Regions from separate parts of the Homo sapiens genome. Here all the other regions are linked to region 2. The links are contacts of gene promoters, found by promoter capture Hi-C in human tissues and cell types (Jung and others, 2019). All regions are on one chromosome and are shown on one strand. Each heading gives the region's core, a stretch centred on a gene start or on the middle of the fragment in contact. The rest is flanking DNA. Distances are from core to core; before and after follow the strand shown. Region 1 has its middle 69 kb from the start of NOS2. Region 2 holds the start of LGALS9 (galectin 9). Region 3 overlaps KSR1 (kinase suppressor of ras 1).

Region 1 (3,452 bases), core at 432-2,931, 100 kb after region 2:
ATTTTCACTCCCCTGATGTGTTTGTATAATAGAATGTATTTTTCCCCTTTCCCCTGTGAAAACTTTATGGAAAGATTATTTCAGTGTTAACCCTGACTGATATTTTACTAATCAAACAAGTGTCTGTTACTCCTTTATTCATTAATTTATCAAGCACTTAATGAGTGTCTTCTGTGTGCTAGGCACTGCACTAGACTCTGGGGAGTCAAAGATGAATCACACTTAGTCTCTAACCACTGGGAATTCATTCTGGTTAGAGAAATTATAAACAAATAATTATGATCCTATGGGATATTTTTAAAGTATGAAATGAGATAATGTATGTGAAAAAAACTTTGTAAGCCTTACACATTTAAGATTCTTTTCTCCAGTGGATAGCATGATGCCTGACATATTTTTAAATGCTCATTATACCTTTAAATGAACTGGTAAAGAGCCAAGAGTTATGAGAGCATAATACTAGAGTGTAGTAGATGGATTTGTTCTGCCTTGGTGGACAGGTGGGATGTGGAGATTTCCAAGAATATAACTTTTGAACTGGACTTGGAAATATAATTTGTTTAAGAATCGAGAAAGGAGGTTCTGCGGGGGCAGCTATCAGTCGTTAAACTGCCTGGATTTAGATGAACCACGTATCTATAGGCTTTTACAGTTTACAGGATGCTTTTGTTTACAGTATCTCTTTTGAGCCTTATGACAGGTCCATGAGGTGAGTTCATACAACCAAGAGAAGCCTTGACCAGAACCTGGGTTCTCAGGTGTAAGAGACAGCATCTGGCCAGTTTATTCTTTACAGTTTCATGGATGTTATGATTGCTAATATTATTGTATTTCTATTATTATATTTGTGAAAGCATGGTTTTTTGAGTTACAAGTATGTGAAAGAAAAATGTATACATGTCATGAAATGTATAGTTTTCTTTTTATTTCTCTAAAGAAGTTTAGCTTGTATTAATACATGAGGAGTTTTTTTCCAGAGGTTTCAGAAACAAGTTAGAAAATGCTTCCATAATATTTCATAGATTATTTAAGATTCAAGCAGTTTTTCAGGATTTAAACCATTTAAACCATTTATCTAATGAACAGTAAGTAGTAACTCTGAGCTCTACATTCTCTTGTAAGCTTTCTTTTTCTGTTATAGTTGAGCACATTTGTTGACATTTTTATTTTTTACACCAAAATGTTTGGTTAAAATACTTTGGGGAGAAAAATAAAGAACTTTTTTCTCATTTATAGTTGACTTCCTATTTTGTGTATATTGTCTTCTGTATGTATTAAGACAGTGAAGTATTGGTGAAAGACCAGGTAAATAGATCAATGGAACAGAATAGGCACCCCAGAAATAGACCTATACAAATAGAGTCAGCTGATCTTTGGCAGAGGAGCAAAGGCAATTTAATGGAGAAAAAATTGTCTTTTCAACAAATGGTGCTGGAACAACTAGACAACCACATGTGGAATAATGAATATAGACACTGACCTTACACCTTTCCCAATAATTAACTCAAAACAGGTCATAGACTTAAATGAAAAACAAAAAACTAGAAAATTTCTAGGAGTTTAATAACATAGGGGAAAATCTAGGTGACCTTGGGTTTGGCAATGAGATTTTAGATACAACACAAAAACACCATCTACAAAAGAGAAAATGGACAAGATTGACTTCATTAAAGTAAAACATGTCTGCTGTGCCAGTGACACTGTTAAGAATGAACAGACAGGTGGGCACGGTGGCTCACACCTGTAATCCCAACACTTTGGGAGGCCAAGGTGGGCAGATCACAAGGTCAGGAGTTCAAGACCAGCCTGGCCAACATGGTGAAACTCATCTCTACTAAAAATACATAAATTAGCTGGGCATGGTGGCCAGCACCTGTAATCCCAGCTACGCAGGAGGCTGAGGCAGGAGAAATGTTTGAACCCTGGAGGTGGAGGTTTCAGTGAGCCAAGATTACACCACTATACACCAGCCTGGGTGACAGGGTGAGACTCCATCTCAAGAAAACAAAACAAAACAAAACAAACAAACAAAAAAACTAAATATGGTCTTACCATACATTCTAGCAGTCATGCTCCTAGTGATTTTCCTAAATGAGTTGAAAACTTATGTCTACACAAAAACCTGTATATTAACACTTTACAGAAGCTTCATTCATAATTGCCAAAAGTTGGAAGCAATCAAGATGTCCTTAAATAAGTGAATGGATAAACAAATGGTGGTACATCCATGCAGTGGAATATTATTCAGCCATACTAAGAAATAAGCTATCAAGCCCAGAAAAGATGTGGGGACACTTTAAATGCATAAAAGCAGCCAGTCTATGAAGGCTACATGTTGTATAATTTTAACTATATGACATTCTGGAAAAGAAAAAACTATAGAGACAGAAAAAAGATCAGCAATTCTTGGGTTGAGGATGGGAAAGGGAGGAAAAACGAATAGGTGAATCACAGGCTACTTAGGGCAGTAAAACTCTTCTGTATGATACTGCAAGGATGGATCCATGACAAAACCCCCACCATCGTGCAATGCAAAGAGTCAACTCTAAAGCATGGCATTTAGTTAGTAATTTATGGGTACTGGGTGATCAGTTGTAACACATGTGCCACACTAAGGCAAGAGGTAATCACAGGTGAAGGAGAAGGGGTATACAGTGTGTACCTTCTACTGAATATTTCTATGTGACTAAAACTGTTCCAAAAATAATTATTTTTGTTTTTAAAAAAGTAAAAAGTGATTTTCCAGTATCTCACTGCTAATGGCTTAGCCTTTTTTTTTATTCTTTCCTTGAACTGAGTAGGAATCTGAGTCTGTCAGTTGCTTCACTTTCTGTCTCCCAGTAACTTGCTGTGATTATGAAAATGTTTGTGCTAAACAACCCATGAACAAAGCAAATAAAGATATTCCTTCATCTACCCAGACTGAAAGGAAATATGCCACCACATCAATGTTAATGGAAGAGAGATTACAGCTGGTTTCTCCTTTCATCTTTGTTTTCCTGTATTTTCCAAATGTTCTCTGTAAAATAAAAAGCTCTTAGCACTAAAACAGTATATATGTATTCCACTGCAGCTTAATTGTATTCAGTTAACATAATTGAAGAGATTAAATAAGAAATGTAGAAATAAGTAAGACATAGATCTTAAGGATCTCTCTGGTTAACTGTAAGTGAAAGACTATCTCACCACAATGCTTGATGTAAACGGTCTGATTGGTGAGTGACAACATCATCAATTATTGCAGCTTGCAAAGGGATTGATTTTTAAATTTTTACTTATTAATTATATACTTGCTTATTTGTTTTCTCATTTACTTGCTTTCTTATTTGCTTATTATTTACTCACTTTCCTATTGCTTTAAAAGAGGATTCTAATTAGATATTATCTAAGTGATTAGGCCGAGTTCTTACATTTTGTTGGTTTAAATTACTTTAAGATATATGTTTGAAATC
Region 2 (3,522 bases), core at 745-3,244:
TGTGATCGCCACCCAGAACCAGATCCAGAACATTTCCAGCCTCTCAAAGACTCCTTCCTGCCCCTCCCAGTCAGAGACCCCCAAGGGTGACGCCATTCTGGCCTGTTGTTCAACTTGACTTGAACAACACTTCAAGTCAAGTTTGGATCTGGCTTCTTCTGCTCAGTTGCGAGGCCCATTGATGTTTCCTGTGGCCTAGCTCCTTTTTATTGCCGAGGGCTACTCTGTTGTATGAAAACCACAATTCATTTCTCCCTTCTCCTTTGGTGAACATTTGCACTGTTTCCAGCCTGGGGCAATGATGAGTAAAGCTGTTAAAAACAGGCACATATGTTTTCCTTTCTCTTGGGTAATTTTTTAGAAGTAGAAAAGCCAGAACATAGAAGTAGATATTTGACTGTATTACAACTCACCAAGCAGTTTTTCTTTTTATTTTTTATTTTTCAATTTTTTGAGACAGAGTCTTGCTCTATTACCCAGGCTGGAGTGCAGTGGCGTGATGAGGGTTCACTACAGCCTTGACCTCCTGGGGTCAAGTGAGCCTCCCACCTCAGCCTCCCATGTAGCTGAGACCACAGGTGTGCACCACCACACCTGGCTAATTTGTTTGTTAAATTATATGTAGGGACAGGGTCTTCCAACCTTTCCCGAGCTGGTCTCAAGCTCCTGGGCTGAAGTGATCCTCCTGCCTCAGCCTCTCAAAGTGCTGGTATTATAGGCATAAGCCACCACGCCCTGCCCATTTTTCTAAGTTGGATTATTTTACACTCCAGTCTGCTGTGAATGAGAGTTCCAGTTGTTGCGTATCGCAATCAATTTGTGATTGCCTACAAATGATGTGCCGTGATGAAATTGTCCCTGGTGTCCGAGAGGATCGCAAAGAATTTCCCTTCCTTTCTCTCCTTTCTGCTCCCCTTGTACTGTCTACTCCTTAAACTGGTACTTGATCCAGGAACATAATGGGGATGGACAGTGCAGATGGCACACATGGCCTCAGTCTATTGGAGCATCTCAAAGGAATTAGTCTGCAAATTCTAGTGCATCTAGGTGGAGCACAGGAAGGAAGAGAGGTGCAGACTCACGTATGGCCCTGGGGCACCTGCCATCCTCTCGCACCCGTACAGCCCTTACCTGCCAGCACTTACCCTACCCAGCTTGAGTTCTGGGCCTTCTCACCAGCACATCGCTGGGACCTGGTCGACTTCAGGTAAGTTTATTTCATGGCTCCCTCCCCCACGACCTGCACATGCCATATGTTCCTTCCCAGCCCCATGTCACTTGAAATGTTCTATCATGTCCAAGACTTCTCTCCTCATCCTAAAGTGCAGAAAATAAGGATGGAGAAGAGAAGGAGAAGAGAATCAAGAGAGATTCATTGAGAGGGAGGATCAGAAGCTCCTGGGCACCCCATACTGTAGAATAAAAATATTCATTATGGTGTTTTTCTTGCAAAATATTCCCCTCTACATAATTATGTTTTTACATGAATAATATAAATTTAAACAGGAGAAATACTTTTTGAAGAGTCTGAGAATCTTCATAAAGTTCAGGCGGCCACGAATTAGCTGTGTGACCTGGGGCATGCCCCTTAGACTCTGAGCCTCAGCTTCTCTGTATGTAAAATGGGTTGAAGCCGCCCTTCCCCACAAGCACCCTGTGCACAGGCAATGCCCAGCCCCATTATTTTCTGGACTCCGTGGCCAAGCATGCTTAGGACACACAGCCACATACTTCTGGGCAGTGTCATCTGGCAACTTGCTGTCATGTCAGTGTGGTCAAGCATTGTAGACCTCTATGAACCAAATATGCTTCAGGCTTGGGTTGAGCACAGGAGAGGGAGGAGGGAAAGGTCACTGGGGCTGGGAGTGCCTACTTCCCTCTGTGAGTGTCACCCCAGTCCACCCAGTACCATACCTTTCTCTCTCTGGACCCACTTCCTTTTGCTGCCGGCTCCTCCCCATTGAATAACAGCCAAGTTGCTTTGGTTTCTATTTCTTTGTTAAGTCGTTCCCTCTACAAAGGACTTCCTAGTGGGTGTGAAAGGCAGCGGTGGCCACAGAGGCGGCGGAGAGATGGCCTTCAGCGGTTCCCAGGCTCCCTACCTGAGTCCAGTGAGTTCCAGGGCTATGGGCACAGGGCTGCCTCAGCCAGAGGGACACAGCTCTGGGGCTCTGAGGAAGCAACTCCTGGGTGGCAGGGGATGGGGGTGGGGGCATCCCAAAGAGAACACAAGCAGGGCAGAAATATCAGAGGAGGTCATCCTGGCACACCTGTGCCGTGCTGAGCTCACTCATGCCTGGAGGGATGCTCCTTCCCACGAGTCATGGCTTTGACAGTGTTGACTGAGCTGTCCTGTCCTGTCCTGTCCTGTGTGCTCAGGGGAAGACATGTAGAGCGGGGTGGTTCATGTAAAGAGGAAGCAAGCACGCTTCTGGGACAGTAAGGACGCTACCCGGCATGGTAGTTAAGGGTGCTTACTGTGAAGGTGGCCTCCCTGGGTCCAGCTATTTACTGGCTGGTGGTCTCTGGGCCTCAGTTTCCATATCTGTGAAGTGGGAATAATACTTGAGCCCCCCACTCCCAGGGTTGGGATATGGATTAAGGAAGTAGTGTATCTAGTGTGTTTGAACAGTGCCTGACACACTGTAGGTGCTTTGGGAGTGTTTCATGTTATTGGGTGTCTGAGGGCAGCAGGGAAGACCTCCCGAGGAGGTGTCTGTGCTCTGAAGGTTGGGCATGGGCATGTTCAGGGCATCTGTGGAGGGGCAGTCTCAGAGGTGAGAGGGGGGTGAGGACTGTCCCTGCAGCGTGGGGTCAGAGGGCGGCAGGTGCCTTGCTGAAACCCTGTGAGGTTTATGAGTCCCCTTCATACACGGAAAATCTGAGGCTCAGGGAGGCAGAGGCCAGTTGCCAAATGCCTCCAGATGGGAGTGGCAGCCCCAGGAGCCCAGGAGACTTCAGGGGTCACTGTGTCCTGGGCCGGCTCCTGTCATAGGATCTCACCCCGCCTTGGCAAAGAGCTTCCCGAGGGGCTGGAGAGGGTGGGCTGATGGGTCCTTCCTGGGTGGGGAGGCAGGGTGGGGAGGGTGGGCAGAGGCAGGGTACTGAGGGAGGGAAGCTGCCATGGCCCACCTCAGCAGAGGCCAGGGTCGGGCTTGAGTGCCCCCTGGTGACACTGAGTCCAGAATGAGGCTGCCTACGTTCTGGTCTGCAGAGCTCGGCTCTGCTTTCTAAACTCCAGAGAGAAAGAATGGGGAAAGGAGGCCTGTTTCCTCCTGGCTGTCACCAATGACACCTCAGCCACCCTGTGGAGGCCCCTGAGGTAGGACCTGCACAGAGGGGGCTGGGGGAAGCTGGAACAGGCCGCTGGTGGGGGCCTTAGGGTCAGCAGGTGCTGCCTTGGGCATGTCACCCTGTCTCTGGTTTTCTGTCAAAGAGGGGATCCCAGAGCTTCTTCCAGGTTCTGACATATTATTATTCTGGTGACTGGTTTTTACTTTCTAATCCTTGGATTCAGAAGGA
Region 3 (3,423 bases), core at 655-3,154, 110 kb before region 2:
GGCCCCACCACCTGAGAGCTGTGAGCTTTGGGAGGAGCTCTTCATCCAGCCCAGCTGGGAGTGGGGATAGTAAAACTGTTTCCCCAGCCGGGAGTGGGGATAGTAATACTGAACCTGGCAGGGCTGCTGTTAGACCATGGGTACTCAGTGCAGCAGAGTCTCTGTAAATGGCAGAGGTGGTGCTTTGCAGATGGGAGAAGGGAATAAACCTGTAGCTGATGTCAGGCCCTTTGTTGCACCCTTTATACCGAATGAATTATTTCATTTCACTCCATAACACCTCTGAAATAGGCTACACTGTTCCCATTTGACAGACACCAAAATGAGTTTCGGAGAGTTTCTGAAACTTGTCCAAGTTCATGTAGCAAATGGAGTTTAACTTCCAAATTCTTTCCACCTTGCCATGAGAAAATTTCCATTCCTGCAGAAGATGGCCTTCTATAAAGGGCACCGAAGGGATTTAAGTCACACCTTGGGACACATTCCTAGATCCAAGTGGTTTCTGTATGTTATAGGCCAGACAGTAGCAAATGCAAAGGTAAATTTATGTGCCTGTGGAGGGGGAGAATTAATTTTTTCCCCTCCCTGGACTTTAACTCTGGAAAGCTTAATCTTCTAAAGCTTAATCTTTAGAAAGGGCTCAGAAACTCTGCTTGGTGCGCATAATAAGTGTTGTGTCCCCAAGGCATTTGTTAGATAAAACGAAAATTAAATAAATAAATAAAATGCTAATCGTGCCACCAGCCCTGAAGTCTCCTTGTCTCTGCTGGCTTTTCCGTGCAGAACGGGCACAGTGGAGCTTTGTTCTTCTGCCCCTTTGTCCGGACGAGGCCTCTCAGGGGCTGGCTCACAGGCAGGGAGGCCAGGCTGTGCCCGCCCAGGTTTCCCAGGCCCCGCTGCCTCCAACTCTCACTGGCCTCCTTTTCCCGAGGGTGGGGCGGCCCCCTGCCAGTGGATTGGAGGGGTGCTGCCTTCCCCCTTACCCATTTGTCCCAGTGGCCAAAAGGGGCTGAAAGCAGGTAGCTGGAGGATGCGGGAGACGTGTGATTCCCTGTTTGCCAGTTGGCCTAACTGGAATCTTCCTGAAATCATTGTATCCCTGTGAGCAGACAGCAGGCACTATGGGCTGTTTGGCCTTGGGTTCGCTTCCTGCCTTGGGCAGTCTGTGGAATGGGGCCCGGTCCTCAAGCACTTGTGGCTGTCACCAGCAGGAAGTTTGTTCAGCACCGTGGTTCTGAACCCTGTCCTCATGTTTGAATCATGGGTGCTTTTAAAACACATCCATATCAGGAGCACAGCCCTGGGCCAGCTGACTTAGTACCTCTGGGGTGGGAACTGGCCCAGGCATCTCTATATGTATACCCGCTCCAAGTGATTCTGATACACAGGGAGGGTGGAAAGCCCCTGGTTAGGATACCCAAGCTGAAAGGACTGCTCAGGAGTTGCTTGTTCCACCCTTCAGTTTACCCATGAGGACAGTGAGTTGACAAAGGCCATTCCTTTTTTTTTTTTTTTTTTTGAAACAGGGTCTAGCTCCATTGCCCAGGTTGGAGTGCAGTAGCTCACTGGAGCCCCGACTTCCTGGGCTCAGGCAAGCCTCTTGCCTCAGCCTCTTGAGTAGCTAGGATCACAGGGTCTAGCTCCATTGCCCACGTTGGAGTGCAGTAGCTCACTGGAGCCCTGACTTCCCGGGCTCAGGCAAGCCTCTTGCCTCAGCCTCTTGAGTAGCTAGGATCACAGACATGAGCCACCACGCCTGGCTAGTTTTTGAATTTTTTTGTAGAGATAGGGTCTCACTGTGTTGCCCAGGCTGGTCTCAAACTCCCTAGGCTCAAGTGATCCACCTGCCTTAGGCTCTCAAAGCGTGGGGATTGCAGGTGTGAGCCACCACGCCTGGCCTGCAAAGGCTACTCTGATGGAGGCAGGTGGGTTAGAACCAGGTCTCCTGACGTCTGAGCTCCCAAAGCACCACCTGTTGCCCTGTTAATCCACACTCTCATGGCTATGGGAAAGGCAGGCAGTTGGAATTATGATGTTGATGATAAAAATGTCTGCTTATCACCCATGCTGCTAGGGAGACCAGGCTTAGTTAGGTTTACTTTCTCTGTTCTTTCCTTTCTCTTGCACATATTTACCATTGCATCTTTTCACATGACATCACAAGTATTTATTTTCTAGGCCATGAGTTCTCAGAGGTCAAGTTCTGGATAATGGCTGGGTTTTTGTTACAGCCATTCTTATACACTGGTACCTGGCCAGAGCAAGCTTTCAATAAATGTTGTGGAGTGGAAAGGTGGATACCAGACCCCAGCCTTGAGCCCGGTGGAGTGTCTCTCTGAGCCCCTGGGTTAAGTGGGTCAAGGCAACTACCCTTTGCACTTGGGGCAAGTTGACATGAAAAATCCATAGACAGGCAGAGTCAGGAAAAACAGGACTGAGAAGGGGCTATGAACTTGATCCTAGGAATACTGGCTTACTTGAAACTAAACAACCACGCAATCCTCCACACAGCTTTGGCCCCCGCTCCCCGTGGCCCTCCCGCCCAGCTCGCCTTTGCAGTGAGCAGATCCAGTATACATGTCACAGCTGGAATCTGGCTTGTGTTTGGAAATAAACAACTTGGCCCCTCTCTCTGCCTGGGATTTTCCTTTATCAGGAGATGCTCATGAGCCACCACCAGAGATGAGGTGTTTCTTTCCAGCAGAGATGAGATGTTCTTTTCAGCAGCCTGCCTGAGAGCTCCAGGGAAAAGTGGGAGGGCTTTGTGGTGGGACAAACACCTTCACATTGTCCTTTTCTGGTTGGTATTGGAGAGGGCTTGAGTGAGTAGGCTGGATATGAAATAATTTGAGGGGTGGTGAATGCAAAGGACTAATCCACCAACCCCCCAGCAAGTTTGCAATGAGGGAAAGTCTCTGTCTTGCAAGAGGAGACACCATAGATAGAAAGCAATGGGTGCACCACTCTGAATGCTGGCTGCCCAGCTAGGTTGCTTTTTGCAGGGTGGTCTGTCCTCAGGCAGCAGCCAGACAACATTTTGGGGAGAGTAGCTCAGGGGATTCCTGTGTTTCTGCTGTAGCTAGTTCAGGGTACTAAGAAAGAAAAAAAGGATCCTGCTACCATCATGTTAGGTAGAAATTGGCAGTTTAGAAATACAGCATGGGGAGGGGCCTCCTCTCTCACACAGGGCCCTGGGGAGTGTAAATTGGTACAACTACTCTCAAGAGAACTTGACTAGATGTGGTGAAGTTAGGGATACACATACCCTATAGCCAAAAATTTTACTTCTATTGTCTGTACTGGAAAAACTAGCATGCAAGTGCTCAAGGAGAAATAGATGTACATTGTAACATTTTTGGTGATGATGAAAAACTAGAAGGAAACTAAAAGCCTATTAGCCAGGAAATATATCAATAAATGACG

The links. Contacts are between HindIII fragments. The study calls those that stand out against the background at their distance.
Region 1: a fragment that was not itself captured here is called in contact with the fragment with the promoter of LGALS9 in region 2 in 2 of the 25 tissues and cell types used here (spleen and thymus).
Region 3: a fragment that was not itself captured here is called in contact with the fragment with the promoter of LGALS9 in region 2 in 2 of the 25 tissues and cell types used here (spleen and thymus).

Annotation. Positions count from the first base shown.
Region 1 is chr17:27,729,993-27,733,444 of GRCh38, forward strand. No RefSeq gene overlaps it. Among named protein-coding and RNA genes, the nearest start is that of NOS2, 69 kb to the right of the region's middle. The HindIII fragment of the contact is 5,964 bases long and covers 1-3,452 here.
Region 2 is chr17:27,629,194-27,632,715 of GRCh38, forward strand. LGALS9 (galectin 9) reads left to right here and starts at 1,995. Exons shown (of 11, transcript NM_009587.3): 1 at 1,995-2,111. The coding sequence starts at 2,073. RefSeq lists enhancers at 1,620-2,437, 1,905-2,024. The HindIII fragment of the contact is 14,549 bases long and covers 1-3,522 here.
Region 3 is chr17:27,519,835-27,523,257 of GRCh38, forward strand. All of the region lies in intron 1 of KSR1 (kinase suppressor of ras 1), which reads left to right. Among named protein-coding and RNA genes, the nearest start is that of KSR1, 65 kb to the left of the region's middle. RefSeq lists an enhancer at 1-314. The HindIII fragment of the contact is 4,326 bases long and covers 1-3,423 here.